3 separate regions of the Homo sapiens genome follow, and regions 1 and 2 are each linked to region 3. The links are contacts of gene promoters, found by promoter capture Hi-C in human tissues and cell types (Jung and others, 2019). All regions are on one chromosome and are shown on one strand. The core of a region is centred on a gene start or on the middle of the fragment in contact, and the rest is flanking DNA. Distances in the headings are between cores, read along the strand shown.

What was found. The method cuts DNA at HindIII sites, captures the fragments that hold promoters and counts their contacts. A contact is called where the count stands out against the background at its distance.
Region 1: a contact is called between a fragment that was not itself captured here and the fragment with the promoter of UNC5C in region 3, in 1 of the 25 tissues and cell types used here (dorsolateral prefrontal cortex).
Region 2: a contact is called between a fragment that was not itself captured here and the fragment with the promoter of UNC5C in region 3, in 2 of the 25 tissues and cell types used here (dorsolateral prefrontal cortex and hippocampus).

The regions. Positions count from the first base shown.
Region 1 is chr4:96,017,195-96,019,894 of GRCh38, reverse strand. No RefSeq gene overlaps it. Among named protein-coding and RNA genes, the nearest start is that of PDHA2, 180 kb to the right of the region's middle. The HindIII fragment of the contact is 3,002 bases long and covers 1-2,700 here.
Region 2 is chr4:95,155,448-95,158,147 of GRCh38, reverse strand. BMPR1B (bone morphogenetic protein receptor type 1B) reads right to left here. Exons shown (of 13, transcript NM_001203.3): 13 at 1-2,700. Among named protein-coding and RNA genes, the nearest start is that of UNC5C, 390 kb to the left of the region's middle. The HindIII fragment of the contact is 5,361 bases long and covers 1-2,700 here.
Region 3 is chr4:95,547,682-95,550,381 of GRCh38, reverse strand. UNC5C (unc-5 netrin receptor C) reads left to right here and starts at 1,409. Exons shown (of 16, transcript NM_003728.4): 1 at 1,409-1,648. The coding sequence starts at 1,525. UNC5C-AS1 (UNC5C antisense RNA 1) reads right to left here and starts at 1,234. Exons shown (of 5, transcript NR_183914.1): 1 at 1,151-1,234. RefSeq lists an enhancer at 838-967. The HindIII fragment of the contact is 1,524 bases long and covers 782-2,305 here.

The sequences.
Region 1 (2,700 bases), core at 89-2,588, 470 kb before region 3:
TATCTGCCATTAATCTCATCTAGTATATTTTTCATCTCAGGCATTTTAATTTTCACATCTAAAATTCCAATTTGGACTTTTATATCCTCTTATGGTTCTACTTAGTATGTTCAATATTTCCACCACTTCTTCAAAGCATATGTAAGACTACTGCATAATTTCCTCACAACATGCATTATGACTTCTTCTCCAATCATGTTTCTTTTTGTTCATCTAGTAATACTTGGGATATACTTTTACTAAAATAATTATGTGTGGCTTTTTAATTAAAATCCAAATATAATTAAATATCTCATATTTCATCTGCCATTCCTAATAGCAAACCTCATCTCATGGCATTTATTAACTTCTTTACTGACTTTATTCATCTACTTAGCACTGATCATCAATAGATCTCCTATATACTTTACTTATTTATTTGCTAATCATCTGTCTTCTCCCACTAGAGGTTAAGCTCTGAGAAGGTATTTTTGTTTGTTTCACCATCTACTGAATTCCACTGTCTATAACCATGCCAACACATATTTGCTGGCTGAATAAATGGGGGAATAAACACACATTTAATTAATTGATTGATTGATTGATTAAATTTGTAGAAAAATTCTTCATGAACAATAAAATGGAGGATGAGAGGAGATTGGAGAAAGAAAAACAGAGGCCATTACATGTCACAGTGCCTTTTATCATTATCTTCTACTTTCCTGATTACATTTCAGAAACTATTATTTAGAAGGAGACAGTGATATATTTTGTGGTTTCCTGAGCACTGTGTTTTAATCTAAATGTCCTATCAGAAACAGTCACCTAATGAAATGAACCATTTGCTTCACATTTCGTTTACTTTTATTCTTCAGGGTATACTTTTGCTGACTGCTTTTGTGAACCACTTTTTTTGCCACATATCAGAAGAACTTTAAACCACTTGACTTCTTTGCCCTCTGATTCAGATTGAAGGGTGAAGGACAGTTTTGTACACAAAGGAATGGATGATGTTTTAATTTTCTTTCCCTTGTTCCTGAGAAAGTCAGCTCTGTAAATCCTGCTATCTAAGTAATGAGACTTTTCAGTTTAGATTACACTTAAGGATTCCACAAAAAGAATATTATATTACAGCTTCTTTGTCTAGTTTCTAAATGCTGGCACTGATATTACCAGGCAGTGTAAAGATATCAATCATCAGAAAGCTTATTGACTGTCCAAAATAGTTCTATCAATATCTAATTTGCTGTCTGATCTAATGCATAGTCAGTCGGTACAATGCCAACATACTACTCTGCCTTTCAGAATATGCTATCTTTCCTTTCAGACAATAAGAAAAGCTTTCACTTTATCCTTGGATCCTACACACATAGAAATCCTCATCATGTAACAAGAGGAAAAATGTTAAAGAAAAACAACTTCTCTTTTCTTGTTTCTCTATTATCTTGTTTATCTATTATCTAGTTTAGCTTTTAAAATAATAGTGTATCTTCACAAGCTTTACATTAATAGTTAGGCTTCTTTAAAACATCCTGTAAGATTATTATTGAATTCATTAATAGCAAACACCTGATTATCACTTATTAGGAAGTCTTGCCCATTTGCAACTACATATCTAACTCTCTTGGCCACTGTGACTTTTATCTTGAAATGGCTTCTCAGAAGGACTATTTGGGCAAAAGTTGAGAGTAGCATATATATATACTTCCCAGGGTTCACATCTGATTCCAAATCCTTCTCTCATATAGTCTTCTGTTCATCCATGTGTATAGTCATGTTCTTGGCCAGGAAACCCTGGCCAAAGTATAATCAGTGGAACCTCCATTTTAGTGGAAATAGTCTTATTTTATCCATAAATAATCCATGGTAACTAAAGTACAACTCATATGTTCATTGGTTCTAATTCACCAAATATTTATTGATCACTGATAAATGTTTCAAGCTCTATGCTAATGACTTTGGACAAAACATTAATCAACAAAGATCTGATCCTATCTACATAGGGTTTAGAGTGTAATGAAAGAAAACCCCAGAAGTTCAAAACCTAACAGTTAATCTGAACTTGCCACATCTGTTTTATGATATGCATCCTATTTTCTCCTACCGCTATGTATAATTTGGAAAGTGTTTAGTAATTTAAGACACCCCATTTTAGAGCATGTTACAATTTTTAAAACTATTAAATTCTGTTTTCTCAACCTACTTTTTCACTTTTCATTCTTTTCATTTCCCTAAAGTGAAAGAATAGTTACAAATACATACAAAGTTATGTCTTATCAGTCTTCCTGAAAAATATGGTGAATTGGCCTCTGAATTAAACAGAAACTGATGGTAAGGGGCTTTTTTTCCTCCACTGCTAAAGAGAAACTTTGCAAATTTTAAAATGTTCCTCAATTTCCAGTGCTTACCTCAGTGATAGCAAAGGAATTTGCTCCTCAGCTGGCACTAGTTCATTTCAGAAACTTTATCAGAAAGAATATATATAACATAGGCAGGCATCCAGGATATCAGCAGAGAGGATTAAGGTACAAAAATGTAAATGTCAATTTAAATACTGACTAAAATAGCAAACTTTATGCCAAAATCCCCAAAAAATATCTATGTCTAAGATCCTCAGGGGGTGTTGGAGGGCAGTTATGTTTAATAAAAGCCTGACCTTTCTACAGTAGGAAAGTAAGAAAACTTCGCAGACTGTCAGTCTGGAGGAAAGATTGTTGGTGA
Region 2 (2,700 bases), core at 40-2,539, 390 kb after region 3:
TTCCACTGCTATGTGTCTGGGTTTTCTAAGGCAATGTAACTACTGAACATGTTCAAGTTTAAAAAACTATACTTCTCTCAGTGCCGTTCCACCCACAAACAAAGAAGAATCAGATCAGACCAACAACATAAAACTTCTAATGAATATGTATGACTGTAGGAACATGAAATTCAGTCATTATTAAGTACTTGCTATACTTGACTACACACCAATTGAAATGTGTCAAAGAATTCCCTGTAAATAAAATCTCAGCATGTTTTCTAAGAAGCTTTCTGTTTGGGGAATTCAAAAATGGGCACTAATGACTTTTGAGCAGTGCTTTCCAGGAGGTCAAAGGCCTGTTTCCTCATACATAATGGTCATAGCACTCTTTTTGTGATTTAACAATCTACACACTTTTATAAATAAATATTATGTTTCATTTAGTACTTTATCATCCATAATATCTTACTCTCTAATCCACATAATGGAGTTGTGCCAGACTCCAAACTGAACATAATATTTATATATACATATATATTTATATATATACACACATACATAAACTATAAACCTGAATATCTTAGCATACAAAACTTATCTAACAACTAATAATTTAGGATTCCTTTGAGAGGGAGGGGTTAGAAGAAACTCTTCTTAGTCTTTGAAATAGTCCTGACAGTAAGCAATAAACAACATTATTAATTTCTGGGTTCTCATTTATTCAAGTGAAAGACAAATAAAATAAAATTCACTTCTGAGCCACTAGAAATTTTGAAATCATAAAGGATTATTGGGAAATGAGTAGTCTTTAAGAACAATTTAGTGTTATCTAAGTAAAGTGGATTTTGGTAAGATACAGAGAAAAATCTATGCATAAATAAATTCTTGTTTCATTGAGCAACTATAATCGCTAAGTGGGTCTTTTTAAGTATCTCAGGAATGTTTTTAAAATATTAATAGTGAATAAATTAGATTGAGGATAGGACCAATCTTTTCCAAAGCAACCAAATATAATAAGGAAGAAGTTTGAAGACTATTTTAATTTCTTCCCATCCTTCATTGGAACCAACACCTCCCTAGAAATCTAGCTTAATTTCAAATCATCACCTCCTCACAAAATATTCTGATTTGACGTTATCCACGTTCAAGTATTTACCAAAAAGAAAACATAATTTTATCTACAAGGTAAGCCCAACCTCACTTAAATTTAGGAAAAACCCAAGAAACAAAAACATGACCCACTTAACTGGCATAAATGTTTACCTGTTGTTTTGTAGATGATCTGTTTAGAGGCACTGAAGTTTCTCTTCAAGGCTCAGATGATTAGTCACACTTAGTTCTAACCATATATTCCTTCTAGGCTATCCCTAAGAATATAACTGACACAAGAGAAAGGAACCTTTACATTATTATTGAGGTTATTTTTAATATCAATTGAAGCAGCGTTCTGATTACAGTTCTACTTGTTTTCTAACTGTTTTCACTCTTTAAAAACACAATTTTTTTTTTTTCAATTTCAAGGATTACGAAATTCTTCTGTCTTAGTTACAAACAAAATGCAGCTATGAAGCACTGGGAAGTAAATGCAAAATATAGAAAGAATCTTCATGATTCTCCCAAACTGTAAGCACAGCTCACAAAGTCTCATTGCTTTAGAATGTTTTCTGGATGAACAAGTTACCAGCTGCAAACCGACTTCAGAAGTGAGGAAAATGTTTTCTCATGTTTCATGTAGCTGTCAAATTTTCAAAAATCCTCCATCCTTCAATCACCCAGTGGGGAAAATGTGTTATAAAACACTGCCCCCTGGAGTATTCTGGGAGGAATGTCTTAAAAAAAAAAAAAAACAGCAAGGAGAAAGTACTTTCAAATTCTTTACTAACCACTAACAGAATTTCTAAGAAGCAAAAGAAAACCACAGAAAGGAAATGTATATGAATAAAGTTGAGCAGGATGTGTACAACTTTAAACTGTATTGTATTCATGTTGCTAAACAATATTGGCCTTCTCGATGATTTTATTCATGTTGCTCCAAAGTTAAAACCCTGTAGAACTAAGTAGGTGAAGAGATATTTTGTATAAGTGCCACAGAAGAGAAAATATAATAAATTAAATAGTGAATTGAGCATCACTAGAATAAAATAAAATGAGTAGGCATTCCTAAGATGTGAAATGATCACCTAAGATATACATGCTCCAACCATATTGATTTTAGAACAAAACACAGCAGCCCATAACAGTTTGTGGCCTCTACTAACTGTCCTCTGCTGTCCCATCTAGAGGTTATGTTTCTCTATTTTTAAAATAAAATGTAGTTAAATTAGCCTGACGGATGTTTCCTCTCTATCCCTTATCTCAGACACATACAAAACAGACAGACAATAACAAAAAGACATCATCTTTATCTGTACAAAATAAGGTATGCACACTTTTTTCTTTGTGCTTCTGAGATTGGCTCCTTTGCATATATAAGATACAAGCCATCTGCACGATCACCCTCATTTCCTATCTTTGTTGACATGTTCCTCTTACAACACAAGAGCAAATTACCTCTATTTGAAAGCACCCTGTCTTCAACACAGCTCATGACAATTTTATTTAATATTGATCCTTTGAATGAGAGATCAAAAGCATGCACAGGTCAATCCTCTGCACATTAAAAAAAAAAAAAAAAAAAAAAAAAAAAAAAAGCTTTCTTTGTGTTTAATGAAAAGGGTT
Region 3 (2,700 bases), core at 160-2,659:
TGCTAATCTTGGGAAGTGATTTTCTTTTTCCCAAAATGTTGTCTGTGTCTGTGTGTTGACCTTTTAATAAATTCACTTTCCTTTTGTCTAGTCTTATTTTACCCACCCAATCTTGCATCCCTCCATCATGACCACAGGGATTCACAACCCAGCTACGTAGACAATTATTTCCTGTAGAAAGGTAAACAAATTCATAGCAGCTCGAGTTCTTACACACACTATTAGAAATTTGAAAAACATGTTATAGGCTCCACCATCACTTTGAGTATCTACAAATTTTGCTTTGCATTTTTTTTTTCTAAGAGAGTTTCTCTCGGTATCGCATCACCACCCTTGTCAGCCACCAACATGCACGCAAAGAAAGCACTGTTGCAGAATGAGTTTCCGTCGAGCTTTTAGTTTCTGTTCCACTGCAAAGGGGTCATACGCGCTCAGAACATAAAGCAGTCTGACTGGCGCTGACAACCCCAGGACAGCAGCCGGCTGGGGCAGTGCAAAAGCTTCATGCCTTCTTCCCCAACCAAGAAGGACTTCAGTTCGAGCCCGCACCGGCTTCGTCAACCGCGAGACCCGAAGTCGTAGACCGAGTCCAGTCCTAGGGAATTCGGCTGAGGCTTTGCCGGCGCGGCGAAGAAGGTGGCAGGCGGCAGGCTGAGCTCCACTGGACACAGCCTAGTGGCCCGGGGCGCGCCCGCTGCACTCCCGGCGTCCAGGTCTGGCGCACCGCGGGAGGCAGGCGCGCTGCCACTCTCCGCAGCCGCTTCGTCCCCTGGTCTGTCTCGCCTCGGCTTCAGCGGGCAAACCCACAGCTGGTCTCCTGGGCGCTGATCTCCCTGCAATCCTTGCTTACATAAGGCGGGCGGGCGTGCTCCCGCCCCCGGTTACCCCCCAGAGGAGTTGTGCTGCGCCCTCTACGCCTCCTTGGCGAGCGCCTTCGCGCACCCGTGCGCCCTACTCTAGGATGTGAACCTCCTTGGCCACCCAGCAGCGACAGCCGGGACATCTCTCCGCCGGCGTGAGAACACTGAGATTGGAGACCAGAGCGCCTGACGGTGCCCAAGCTTCCTCCCTCCGTTCCCTCCTCCTCCAACTCCCCCCACTTCAACCCCCACCCCCACCCCCACCCCCGGTGTCTGTGTGTGTTCCTCACAGGCGAGGGGACCCGGAGAGCAGTCCAGACTTCGGCGTGCGGCGGAGCTGCGGCTGCTCCTGCTGCTGGGGGGAGCGGCGGAGGTGGCCGCCTTGCGCCTCCCTGGACTTCCCAAGTGGGGGCAGAGCAGTCGCTCGCGGGAGACGTCAGTTAGAAGGCATTGGGAAAGAGGGACCTTCAAACTCCTCCTCGGCGTCTCCTCTCCTCCCCCTTTTGGCCCCTGCCTTTGGAGAAAGTGGAGTGTGGCGCTTGGTTGTCGTTATTTCTTCGGACTGCTTCGCGGTGCACGGATTCAGCTTCTGCCCAGTGGGGCTTTCAGCTGTTTGCGCGTCTCTCTGTCCCCCTCCCCTCCCCCCGGCACACCTCTGTCTACGATGAGGAAAGGTCTGCGGGCGACAGCGGCCCGCTGCGGACTGGGACTGGGATACTTGCTGCAAATGCTCGTGCTACCTGCCCTGGCCCTGCTCAGCGCCAGCGGCACTGGCTCCGCCGCCCAAGGTAAGGGGGTCCGCCAAGCTCCGCGGCCACCTCCCTTAGCTTCTTCCTTCCCTCCTTCCTCTCCTCCTCCCCAGTTCTCTTGACTTCCTCAATTTGCCTCGTTGCTTTCAACTGGAAACCACTCTAAATTCCACTTTCCCAACTAGTCAAGAAGCTTTGATTATAATAATAATAATTATTATTATTATTATGTTTAATCTATCTTCTGAGATGGGCACGAATGGACCAGGGACGAACGGGGTGTGGACACGCAGCCGATCCGTCTCCATACGTGTGGGAGCCTGGAGTGTCTTGTGCCCTTTCAGCTCCGCACGCGCACGTTGTTGCATATTGCACACACGGAGGTTTGGAAAGACTCTCGGTGCGGGTGGCTGTGTGACATACCGTAGATGCACCCCGAAGCGCATGATGCGCAGAGGCTCCCCGCGCTGTGCCAAGACTGGGGTAGCAGGATCTTCACTGAGTCTCTGAGCACACTAGACCCCGAAGGGCGCTCAGCTAAGGAAATGTGTCCATTACTGTCAAGGACTCAAAAGCACCCGTCCCCCTCGCCTGCTGCTTCAGGTGCTGTGGAAATACACAGCTCACCCGAATCCGCGTACCCGGCTGGAGGCAGGCCCGGGATGTGCATGCCTCTGCACTCATACATACCCCGCTTCATGCCTGCTTCCCACCAGGGGATGTAGAAATGAAAATCCCGGAGCTCTGGGGGAACCGGCTGCTTGTTCAAACCAAATCCGAAACTCCCCGGGGTAGTCGACCAGTTTATAACTCTGACATTTTAATTTAACGCCTGTGAACTTTAACATAAGTGACCGGGGCCCTGGGCGAAGCCGGGTTGGGAAGAGTGTGGCCGGGAGTTGGGGATGGGTAAGGGAGGAGGGGAGGCTCCGGAGCTGATCGCCCGGCTCCCTTCTTGTCCGCCTAGTTTGAAGTGTTAGCAGCAGCTCCCAGCCTTCAAAGCCGGGAAAGCTGACTGGAAGGGAGCGCAGAAGAAAGAGCCAAGGCTGTCCCCTCCGGGGTCTCTTTCAGGTCACCTGGGCCCCAAAACT